Regions from separate parts of the Homo sapiens genome. Here region 2 is linked to region 1. The links are contacts of gene promoters, found by promoter capture Hi-C in human tissues and cell types (Jung and others, 2019). All regions are on one chromosome and are shown on one strand. Each heading gives the region's core, a stretch centred on a gene start or on the middle of the fragment in contact. The rest is flanking DNA. Distances are from core to core; before and after follow the strand shown.

The links. The method cuts DNA at HindIII sites, captures the fragments that hold promoters and counts their contacts. A contact is called where the count stands out against the background at its distance.
Region 2: a contact is called between a fragment that was not itself captured here and the fragment with the promoter of RANBP17 in region 1, in 2 of the 25 tissues and cell types used here (H1 embryonic stem cells and mesendoderm cells).

Annotation. Positions count from the first base shown.
Region 1 is chr5:170,858,406-170,864,151 of GRCh38, forward strand. RANBP17 (RAN binding protein 17) reads left to right here and starts at 3,613. Exons shown (of 28, transcript NM_022897.5): 1 at 3,613-3,646. The coding sequence starts at 3,629. The HindIII fragment of the contact is 7,494 bases long and covers 856-5,746 here.
Region 2 is chr5:170,933,894-170,939,639 of GRCh38, forward strand. All of the region lies in intron 12 of RANBP17 (RAN binding protein 17), which reads left to right. Among named protein-coding and RNA genes, the nearest start is that of RANBP17, 75 kb to the left of the region's middle. The HindIII fragment of the contact is 5,474 bases long and covers 51-5,524 here.

The DNA.
Region 1 (5,746 bases), core at 2,363-4,862:
CGGGCGTAGTGGCGGGCGCCTGTAGTCCCAGCTACTTGGGAGGCTGAGGCAGGAGAATGGCGTGAACCCGGGAGGCGGAGCTTGCAGTGGGCCGAGATCCCGCCACTGCACTCCAGCCTGGGCGACAGAGCGAGACTCCGTCTCAAAAAAAAAAAAAAAAAAAAAAAAAGGAAAAAAAGTTGTCTTCTTGTTTCCAGAATTGCCTGGTGAATCCACAGAGTACTTGGCATCCTCTGTTGTTTTCACAGCCCTACATTTCTGGTGACAATATTCTGGAGTGGGAAAAAAATTAAATGATTCAAAACTCAAATAATTGTTTCTCCCTCAAGGACCTAAAATTTGAGGTGATAAAAATGCCATTTTAAAACAATAGCTTTAAAAGGTGGTTGGGTTTTAGAAGTTAGGCAAAAGCAGCAGGCAGTTAAAATAACGGGGTATTGTGCAGCAGACATCTTACAGAGGTCAGAAATCAGGATGCGTGTTTGGGATGTGGGCATCAGATATGTTGGGTTGTGGGAATCACAGTTGAGATTGGATATCAAAAGTATTGAGACATGGAAATGGAAGTTACGACTATGGGAATCAGGAACTTTGGGACACAGGAGTGAAAATGGGACACAGGGGGAGGGTATTAACGATTTTAAGGTTTAAAGGAGTTCAGTTGTGGAAATGCAGATTTATGGACAGTGGATGAGCTATGAAAACCAAGGGTGAAGCATGGAAGATGCAAACAGGCTTATAATAATAAAGTATCTTATGTTGGATTAGACCTCCCACTGAAAACTATTATAAAGATAGGACACGTGTGTGTATGACAATTCTATCACATATATTAAATATATATAAAACTATGAGTAAATATGAATTATCAGCAATCATGCATGCACACACCCACACACACACGACAGATAAGTATCTTTAACAACTAAAGGCAATAGAAAAGGCAGAACTTAAGTGGCCACAAATCTTGAAAGAAGGAAAGCACAAGGGGTAAGATTCCAATTTACCTTAGATTCCCCATCTGCTCCTCCCTGTCATCACCCCAAGGCATTTTCCAAGTGGCAGCAAGGAATAACAGCTAAATAGAAAGCAGCAGTCTCAATAGGCTAGGAGCAAAGGCTGGAGTTTCGGAACAAGAGCAACTGAGATTTGAAGGACAAAATTCTAGAAAGAAAGAAACTATAGAGATGTGAGTCCCCAAATTTGTGTCCGTTCCTAAGATATACATGCACATGAAGAGACTCTAAGAAATCCAGCAGAACAACAGCACCTAAAGAGCTCAACAAAGATTTCAGCAGCTACACAGGGCTGAAGAGACAGAGACTAGAGTTCAAGCCCCACAAGGTGGAAGGATCTTGGTAAACATTCCAGGCTTTTGTTTTTTTGAGACAGATTCTTGCTCTGTTGCCTGGCCTGGAGTGCAGTGGTGCAATCACGGCCCACTGCAGCCTATAGCTTCTGGGCCCAAGGGGTCTTCCCACCTCAGCCTCCCGAGTAGCTGGAACTACAGGCACATGCTACTACACCAAGCTAATTTTTTGTATTTCTTGTAGAGATGGGCTTTCACCATGTTGCCCAGGCTGGTCTCAAACTCCTGGATTCAAGCGATCCACCCTCTCTGGCTTTCCAACGTGCTGGGATTATAGTCATGAGCCATCATGCCCAGCCACATTCTAGGCTTTTAGTTGTAAGACCTAGTAAGGACCATGGCCTAGGAGTAAGGTCATAACTGAAGTTAACCAGAATTAAAAAGACTCAATGATCCACTAGTACTCTTGTCTGCCTACCACAAGAAAACTTAGCCCTCCTTGGAGAAACCTGTTATCATCCAGAGCCTCTACAAATTTTCTTCTACATGGTTTGAATTCAACAAGAAATCATGAGATATGTAAAAAAAAAAAAAAAAAAAAAAAAAAAAAAAAGAAAGAAAAAAAAGGGCCAAGGGCCAAGCACCAAAAACCCAGGAAGACTCAGATGATTCAGAAATTGGAGTTAACAGATAAGGGCTTTAAATAATACAGTTAAAATGTTTAAGAAAATAAAGACAAAGAATTTCATCAAAGCCTTGGAATCTATTTTTAAAATGGGAGAGGAGGAGGAACCATGAAAATTTCAACTTTCTAAATGAAAATTCTAGAACTGAAAATATTATAACTAAAACTAAGAATTCAATAGAGGGGATGTATAGCAGCTCAGACACAGCAGAACAGAGTTTCTATGGAATGGACAGCAGGCAAATAAAAAATACAGAATAGAAATAAGGAATATAGCAAAAACTTATAACATACATGTAACTGGAGTTCCAGAATGGAGAGGTAGAGAGAGAGAAGGGGACAGATGCAATATTTAAAGAACTAGTGACCAAGATTTTTCAAAACTTGATAAAAAAGATTACATTCACACTTAAAGAGCTTTATGAATCCCAAGCAGGATAAATACAACACACACACACACACACACTTAGCGACATCAAGCACAAAGTGCTGAAGACAAAAAGAAAAAATAAAAAAAGAGAAAAATGTTCAAGTACCTGAGGAGGGGGCCAAAAGACAGGAGCAACAATTAGACTGATGGCTGATTTCTCAATAGAAACAATGACAAGCAGAAGACAATGAGAAGACATTTTTAAAATGCTGAAAGATTAAAAAAAAAGCCAATGTGAAATTCTATACCCAGCAAAACTATCCTTTAAAAAATGAAGGTGAATTAAGATGATTTTATGTTAACAAAAGCTGAGAGACTTTGTTGTTAGCAGACCTGAATACAAGAAGTGCTTAAGGGAGTTTCCCTCTTAAATACTACAGCACAGTGCTCCCAAATGGAAATGCTGAACTTGAAGAAAAAACGGAGAACATCAGAAAGCAGCAACTTTGACCCAATTCTGCTCCAATAAATTCTCATTGCAGTGGAATCATTTGTTGTAAAATATAAGTTCATATTAAACAAAATGCAGACAAAGAATGAGGTAAAGCTTGAATTTTACAACTTAACAGCATGTAGACATGGGCGGTTTAATTTTAACCAAAATCAAGTTAAAAACATTGTTAAGCAACAATGGAATTTGGGCCCTGGGAGTCAGGGGTCAAGGGCAACAGCTGGCATGTGGGAGTCAAAGGTTATGGCTGTGTGTGTCTGTGGTTCCTGGCTGTTAGGAGACAAGAAAATCTGTGGAGATGCAGGTGTCGGGAGCCATGGGCGATAGTTGTATTTTGAGGGTCAGGGGTCAAGAGAGCCTTTGGAAGACTTATGAGTCAGGGTCCACGGCTGACGGGTGGGTCGTGGTAGTTGTGTCAAAGGGCAGAGGTTGGAGGTCATGACCCACCAACACACGCCGGTTGAAACTTGAGCGCAAGGGACGGTTGAGATTCCCGGAGGACACGCCCCTATCGGCCCCGCCCCGTGCACCGCCTCCGTCGCCCCGCCCCGTCCCTCCCAGCCCCGCCCCGTCCCTCCCAGCCCCGCCCCTCCAGCGCTTCGAATGCGGACGCGAAGCCTGGCTGAGGCTGCGAAGGACGAGCGGCGCAGGGACCCCGCGGGCGTCTGGGGCTTCCGCGGCGCCCGCCTCTGCTCCCTCCCCTCGGGCGCTGGGTGCCGACCGGCCGGCTGGCCGGCGCCGCCTCCTGGGAAGATGGCGCTGCACTTCCAGGTCAGTGTGCTCTGCGCCGCGGGCCCGCGCTCCGCCACGCTGGGAACCCGGCGGGACGCGTCTGGAGACCGAGGGCCGAGGACAGCGGCGGAGGCCGCAGGGCCGTGGGCCGGTGTCCCCGGAGTCCCAGCCCCTGCCTCTGCCCCTAGCCGGGGACCGGGACACTGGTCTGGGCTGCACACCCCAGGCCCGGGCCGGAGCCCGAGAAAGGGGCGGCCGAGCCTGGGTTGGAGGCGGCGGGTGGAGGGGGCGGGGGACAGGCCCAGGGCTCGTCCCGGGGAAGGTGCGGACGCCGGCAGCACGCTCGCTGACCGCGGCTTTAGTGTTGCCAGGGCAGGTGGGAGTCCCAGCTGGGCCGGCTTTGGCGCGCCTCGCGCGGCTGCCGAGCGGTGGAGCAGCCTTCCCGCCTTCCCGCCGCGTCGCCGGCGCGGCTCTATCGTCAGCCTCCCTCCACACAGTTGAGCCCCAGCCGGAGCGGGGGCTTGGGATCCACCGAAGGAGCGGCGGCAGCGGTTGGACTTTAATTGGCCAGAGGAGACAGGGGCTGCGTCTGGGGGGAGTTGCGAGGGAGGGCTACGCGGCCGCCTCTTCGGAGGAGGAAACCCGGGCCGGGCGCGGGCGCGGGCGCGGACGCGAGGATCGCAGAGGCTACGAAGATGGGACGCGTGCTTGTATATCCTCGGGCTGCTCTGACATCCCCGTTCAGTTATTCAGCAAACATTTATTATCTCCCCACTGTGTCTCAAGCATTGTGGAAAGTTCTGGGGATAAAGGATGACATCTTACTATCCTCGCCCTCATACAGTTAACAGAGAATTACAGTACAAGTGAAAAATGTATGGTAGAAATAGTCACAGTATCATAGCACAGAAAAGGGGGTAGCCAGCCAAATGTGTATGTTGAGAAGGAGTGAAGCAGAGCTGCTATGCTCTTAGCTGAGAGATGCTTTAAGATTCTTTGAGCCTCCATTCTTCCATTTATTAATTATTGAGCGCCTACTATGCTAGGCGCTGAAGATACAACAGCTCTGAACAAAACTATGGTTTCTACTCTCAGGGAACTTGCAGTCTACTGGTCCTTGAAAGAGTCGTAGTTGTTTGCCAGGTGAAGAGGAAGGGAAGGATATGGAGGTAGAAGGACGTGTGAGCCAAGGCAAAGAATTGTGGAAGAACATGGTGTACTGCAGAAAGTTGAGTCTGGTTGGGACAAAGGGATGGGATCAGGGGAGGCAGTGGGTGGCAGGAGATGACCCCAGGGAGGGAAGGGAATTTCATAATATGGTGACAGTGTATCTAAGAATCTCATTCCCCTTGTAGACTCTTTTGAACCCCCTGTGATCACACTGATTTATAACTTGGCTGATTTATTGATTCTTCTAAAGGGTCTTTTTTTTAAAACCAGTTACTGTCTGATAATCGACAGTTCTAGAATGTTATGTAGTAAGCCCGACACATTACCTTTTGACTTCATGCCATTTCTAAGGGTCCTCAGGTCAAAATAATGTATTACCACTTTAGTAAATATGCCCTCTGGGAAATTTTCACAGGAAGAATCTTACAAGGAGGATTTATGGATTGTAAATAGGTAATCAGATGTTCACAGAGCCCGAGTAAATCTTGAGAGTAAATTAAAAGGTATGGTGGAACTTTGGAATTTTTTCATACATGGAAAGGTGATGTACAGTTAAATCACCAAGCCCTGGAAGACTTCTTCATATTTAGGCACAGTGTTGGAAAAGTTAGCTGCTGATGTCAAAACTACCCATATTGGTTTTGCAGGAATGTACTTCACAGTACATTCCAACATAAGTACTTCACAGTACATTCCTGTAGACAGCTTAAAAGCGGAGTTGGACAAATAAAAGATCAGACAGTTTTGTTGACTAGAAAAAAACTGAAATTTCTCCGTTTGAATTCTTTTTAGCATATAGGATCATATTGTTAATCAGTTAACTCAAGGAACATTTGTTAATAGTGATAACCAGTACCTAGCATTTTGAGTTTTCATATCCTCATTATAGAGGTGAGCCCTGCCACTAACTTAAAAAGTGTGCATATATACGTTTCATTCTGAAGACACTGAGTCTTAAAACAGTTGTGA
Region 2 (5,746 bases), core at 1,538-4,037, 75 kb after region 1:
ATTTGGGGTGGAGCGTTCTGTAGATGTCTATTAGGTCTGCTTGGTGCAGAGCTGAGTTCAATTCCTGGATATCCTTGTTAACTTTCTGTCTCGTTGATCTGTGTAATGTTGACAGTGGGGTTTTAAAATCTCCCATTATTATTGTACGGGAGTCTAAGTCTCTTTTTAGGTCTCTCAGGACGTGCTTTATGAATCTGGGTGCTCCTGTATTGGGTGCATATATATTTAGGATAGTTAGCTCTTCTTGCTGAATTGATCCCTTTACCATTACGTAATGCCCTTCTTTGTCTCTTTTGATCTTTGTTGGTTTAAAGTCTGTTTTATCAGAGACTAGGATTGCAACCCCTGCTTTTTTTGTTTTCCATTTGCTTGGTAGATCTTCCTCCATCCCTTTATTTTGAGCCTATGTGTGTCTCTGCACATGAGATGGGTCTCCTGAATACAGCACACTGATGGGTCTTGAATTTGATCCTGTTTTTATGATGTTAGCTGGTTATTTTGCTCATTCGTTGTTGCAGTTTCTTCCTAGTATTGGTCTTATTTGGCATGTTTTTGCAGTGGCTGGTACCAGTTGTTCCTTTCCACGTTTAGTGTAAGGCAGGCCTGGTGGTGACAAAATCTCTCAGCTTTTGTTTGTCTGTAAAGGATTTTATTTCTCCATCACTTATGAAGCCTAGTTTGGCTGGATATGAAATTCTGGGTTGAAAATTCTTTTCTTGAAGAATGTTGAATATTGGCCCCCACTCTCTTCTGGCTTGTAGAGTTTCTGCCGAGAGATCTGCTGTTAGTCTCATGGGCTTCCCTTTGTGGGTAACCCGACCTTTCTCTCTAGCTGCCCTTAACATTTTTTCCTTCATTTCAACTTTGGTGAATCTGACAATTATGTGTCTTGGAGTTGCTCTTCTCAAGGAGTATCTTTGTGGCATTCTCTGTATTTCCTGAATCTGAATGTTGGCCTGCCTTGCTAGGTTGGGGAAGTTCTCCTGGATGATATCCTGAAGAGTGGTTTCCAACTTGGTTCCATTCTCCCTGTCACTTTCAGGTATACCAGTCAGACGTAGATTTGGTCTTTTCATGTAGTCCCATATTTCTTGTAGACTTTTGTTCATTTCTTTTTACTCTTTTTTCTCTAAACTTCTCTTCTAACTTCATTTCATTCATTTGATATTCAATCACTGATATCCTTTCTTCCATTTGATCAAATCTACTGAAGCTTGTGCATGCATCACGTAGTTCTCGTGCCATGGTTTTCAGCTCCATCAGGTCATTTAAGGACTTCTCTACACTGTTTATTCTAGTTAGCCATTCGTCTACTCTTTTTGCAAGGGTTTAGCTTCTTTGCAATGGGTTCGAACATCCTCCTTTAGCTTGGTGAAGTTCGTTATTACTGATCGTCTGAAGCCTTCTTCTCTCGAATCGTCAAAGTCATTCTCTGTCCAGCTTTGTTCCGTTGCTGGCGAGGAGCTGCGTTCCTTTGGAGGAGAAGAGACCCTCTGATTTTTAGAATTCTCAGCTTTTCTGCTCTGGTTTCTCCCCATCTTTGTGGTTTTATCTACCTTTGGTCTTTGATGATGGTGACGTATGGATGGGGTTTTGGTGTGGATGTCCTTTCTGTTTGTTAGTTTTCCTTCTAACAGTCAGGACCCTCAGCTGCAGGTCTGTTGGAGTTTGCTGGAGGTCCACTCCAGACCCTGTTTGCCTGGGTATCACCAGCTGAGGCTGCAGAACAGCAGATGTTGCTGCCTAATCCTTCCTCTGGAAGCTTAGTCTCAGAGGGGCACCGGGCCTTATGAGGTGTCAATCGCCCCCCTACTGGGAGGTGCCTCCCAGTTAGGCTACTCGGGACTCAGGGACCCACTTGAGGAGGCAGTCGGTCCGTTCTCAGATCTCACACTCCATGCTGGGAGAACTACTGCTCTCTTCAAAGCTGTCAGACAGGGACGTTTAAGTCTGCAGAAGTTTCTGCTGCCTTTTGTTCAGCTATGCCCTGCCCCTAGAGGTGGAGTCTACAGAGGCAGGCAGGCCTCCTTGAGCTGCCGTGGGCTCCACCCAGTTCGAGCTTTCTGGCTGCTTTGCTTACCTACTCAAGCCGCAGCAATGGCTCAAGCCCCTTCCCCAGCCTCGCTGCCGCCTTGCAGTTCCATCTCAGGCTCTTGTGCTAGCAGTGAGCGAGGCTCCGTGGGCATGGGACCCTCCGAGCTAGGTGCAGGTCATAATCTCCTGGTGTGCCGTCTGCTAAGGCCATTGGAAAAGCGCAGTATTAGGGTGAGAGTGTCCCGATTTTCCAGGTGCCGTCTGTCACAGCTTCCCTTTGCTAGGAAAGGGAATTCCTGGACCTCTTGCGCTTCCAGGGTGAGGCAATGCCCCGCCGTGCTAGGTGGGCTGCACCGACTTGTTTGGCAAGCCCTAGTGAGATGAATCCGGTACCTCAGTTGGAAATGCAGAAATCACCTGTCTTCTGCGTCAGTCTCTCTGGGAGCTGCAGACTGGAGCTGTTCCTATTCGGCCATCTTGGCGCCACCAAGCCGCTGTTTTATTTTTATTTTCATTTAAAGATAATTTCTAATTTAATTATTATTTCTTTGTTCTTTGTGATTTATGGATTATTTAGAAGTGTGCTTTTAAGTTACAAATATTTAGAGTTTTCCTAGTTATTGTTACTGATTTTTAAATTTTACCTACCTTGGTCAAGTATCATTTTGTGTGATTTCAGTCTTTCTAAATTTATTAAGACTTGTCATATGACCCAGAATATTGTCTGTCCTGGCAAACGTAGCATATACACTTGAAAAGAATATGTATTTTGCTATTTTTGGGTGTAATATAAATATAAATTAAGATAATGTTCATATATTCTTTGTCTTTATTGATTTCTTTTGTCTGTGTAATTATATTGTTTGCAGAGAGAGGGGTGTTAAATCTCCAGTTATGATTGTGGAATTGTTTATAATCTAATTCCTTAAATTTTTGTATCATGTAAACATTTGTGATTGTTATGTCTTCCTTATTGACCTTTACTCTTGAAATCTATCTTATCTGATATTACTGTAACCACTCCACTGTCTTCTTATGCTTACTATTTATGTAGTATATCTTTCTCCATCCATTTACTTCCTGCCTGCCTGTGTCTTTATATTTAAAGTGTGTCTTTTGTAGGTGGTAAATAGTTGTTCCCTTTTAAAAAATCCATTCTGACCATCTCTTTTTACTGGAATGTTTAGTTCATTTGCTAGGTGGAGGACACCAACTTAATTCCATTTAAATTATTTCCTTAGAATGGGAGTTTCATATCTCATTTTCATATCACACTGGTAGTCTGTATGTAGTCCACAAACCATGTGAGGTCTGACTTAAAGGTTTTTTCCTCCTCTTCAGTTAGCACTGAGGTCAAGTCAGACAGGTTTCTGTCTTGTCTTTCTGTTTAGGGCAGATTTTTTTTACCCAGTTTGTATTTTCATTTGGGGTGTAACTCTTTGCATCAGCTTTTTTGGACTTCTCACATTGGGCCTGTCCTAGGCTTTTTCCTTTGGCCATTAGAGGAGAAGCTCAAACTCTAGTTGTTTCTGTGCCTGTAACTCTAAATTTCAGCCTTCATATTATTTTTGGACATTGAGGATCATTTTACTCTTCTACCAGCTCAGTAGTACATTTGGTACCTTTGTGCAAATTAGAAAAATGTTCCATTTCATCCAGGCCATTGCAACAACATGCTAGAGTAAATAGATTGGTGGGCAGAATATAGGCTGGATTTCAGTCCTAACTTGTCCTTTCAGTTGAGTATCTTTACAGGTGACCCTGTAAGCTTGTGTTGTAGTGCTGTTTTTGTTTTGACTGATGACACATGACAATCTTTTGTCATTTCAGATTTGTGTTCTGTGTGCAGACATTAATTTGGATTATGTTATTTTATAATTTGGATTGTGTTTAGCCAGCTATCTATAAAATTACATTTAAAAAATATATAGCACAGACAATTAGTGTTTGGTTCTTCAAAAGTAAAGAGTTAGTAATAACTTAAGTGTGGTCAACTACATCCTCTGAAAGGCCTTTTAGCTGCAAAATAATCAGATCCTGGGCTTACAGTAAGTACGTGAAATTTCTTAGGTTTTTATTTTTCTTCCCACTCCTCTGCTCTCTGATTCTGTGTCTCTCCTTTCTCTGACCTCCTCCCTCCCAGCCTCTCCCATCATCCAGATCAAAAAGTGAACTTTAATCGGGGTGGGACGGGTCAAACAGCAAACAAGGGCAAAAAGCAGGGTTGCTCTCAAAGACAGATAATAAATATCAATGATGAAATTCGTGACAAAGCCTTAGGCCGGTAGCAAGATAGGTGTACCAACCTGAGACTCTTGTATTAAGTTGAACCCTCAAAAGGGTATAAAATGGTTTTAAATTGGTAGATACCCTGGCTTCCAGCAGAAGGGAATGAAAACCTCTTCCAAAGGATCAACCATAATTTAGGGCCTTGGAAATCCTGCAGATTAAGTTAAACAAGTGTTCATAGTAAACAAAAACAATAAAAGCCAGCACATAAACAATGAAGTAAGCTGCCATGAATGAGCACTAACAAAAATAAGTTATCTATTTGATTTAGAACCCCTATCTCCTAAAGACTCTTAAGATGTTGGAATTGGATAGGAATATAAAGCAATTATGTGCGAAATAGTTAAAGAAATAAAAAATAGAATCACAAATGAGCACATAACAGGAGTGTGAAAAACAACCAGGAGGATATGAAAAGGACCTGAAAAAACTTTTTTTATTGAAAACTTTGTGATCTAAAATTTCATGGATGTGTTAAACAGTAAATTGGACCCAACTGAGGAAAGAGTTGGCTAACTGGCAGTTAGAACTGAAGAAATTTTCAAGACTGCAGGAAAAAAGGAAAATGAAAATATTAAAAGAGACGTTAAAGGATGGAATGAGGTCAGGTATGTCAAAATGAGTCCCAGAAAGATAGAATAGAGGAAGGAGGAGAGGTGATAACTGAAGAAATTCTGAGAATTTTTTTGACTTAATAGAAGACATGAGTTCATCAATACAGCAAGCCCAACATATACCCATCAGAAACAGAAAAACAAAACTTTAGTCAAACTATATAACCCCAAAGACAAAATGTTAAAAGCAGCTGGAGAAGAAAGATCACTTAGAAAGTAGTGTAAACTGGACTGATAACTCAACTTCTCAACAGTAAAAATGGAAGCCAGAAGGTGTTAGAATATTATTCTCAAATAACTGAGCAAAAATAACTGCCAGGCTGTTATTGTATATCAGCAAAAATATCTTTCGAGAAAAACGATATACAATAGAGATTTCAGACAAGTGAAAGCAGAACGTTTTCTACTAGCCGATCTTTCATTAAAGGTTTTTATTAAACATTTTAAAGGTTATTTTCGAGGAAGAAGGGGCATGGTCCCAGAAGGAAGAAAAGGAGTACATGGAAATTGGTAAACTCAAAAATTTTATTTTATTTATTTATTTATTTATTTATTTATTTATTTATTTATTTAAGATGCAGTCTTGCCCTGTCAACCAGGCTGGAGTGCAGTGGCGTGATCTCAGTTCATTGCAACCTCTGCCTCCCAAATTCAAGCCATTCTCCTGCCTCAGCCTCCAGAGTAGCTGGGACTACAGTCATGCACCATGCCGGGCTAAATTTTTTGTATTGTTTTAGTAGAGACGGAGTTTCGCCATGTTGTCCAGGTTGGTCTCGAACTTCTGATCTCAAGTGATCTGCCCACCTCGG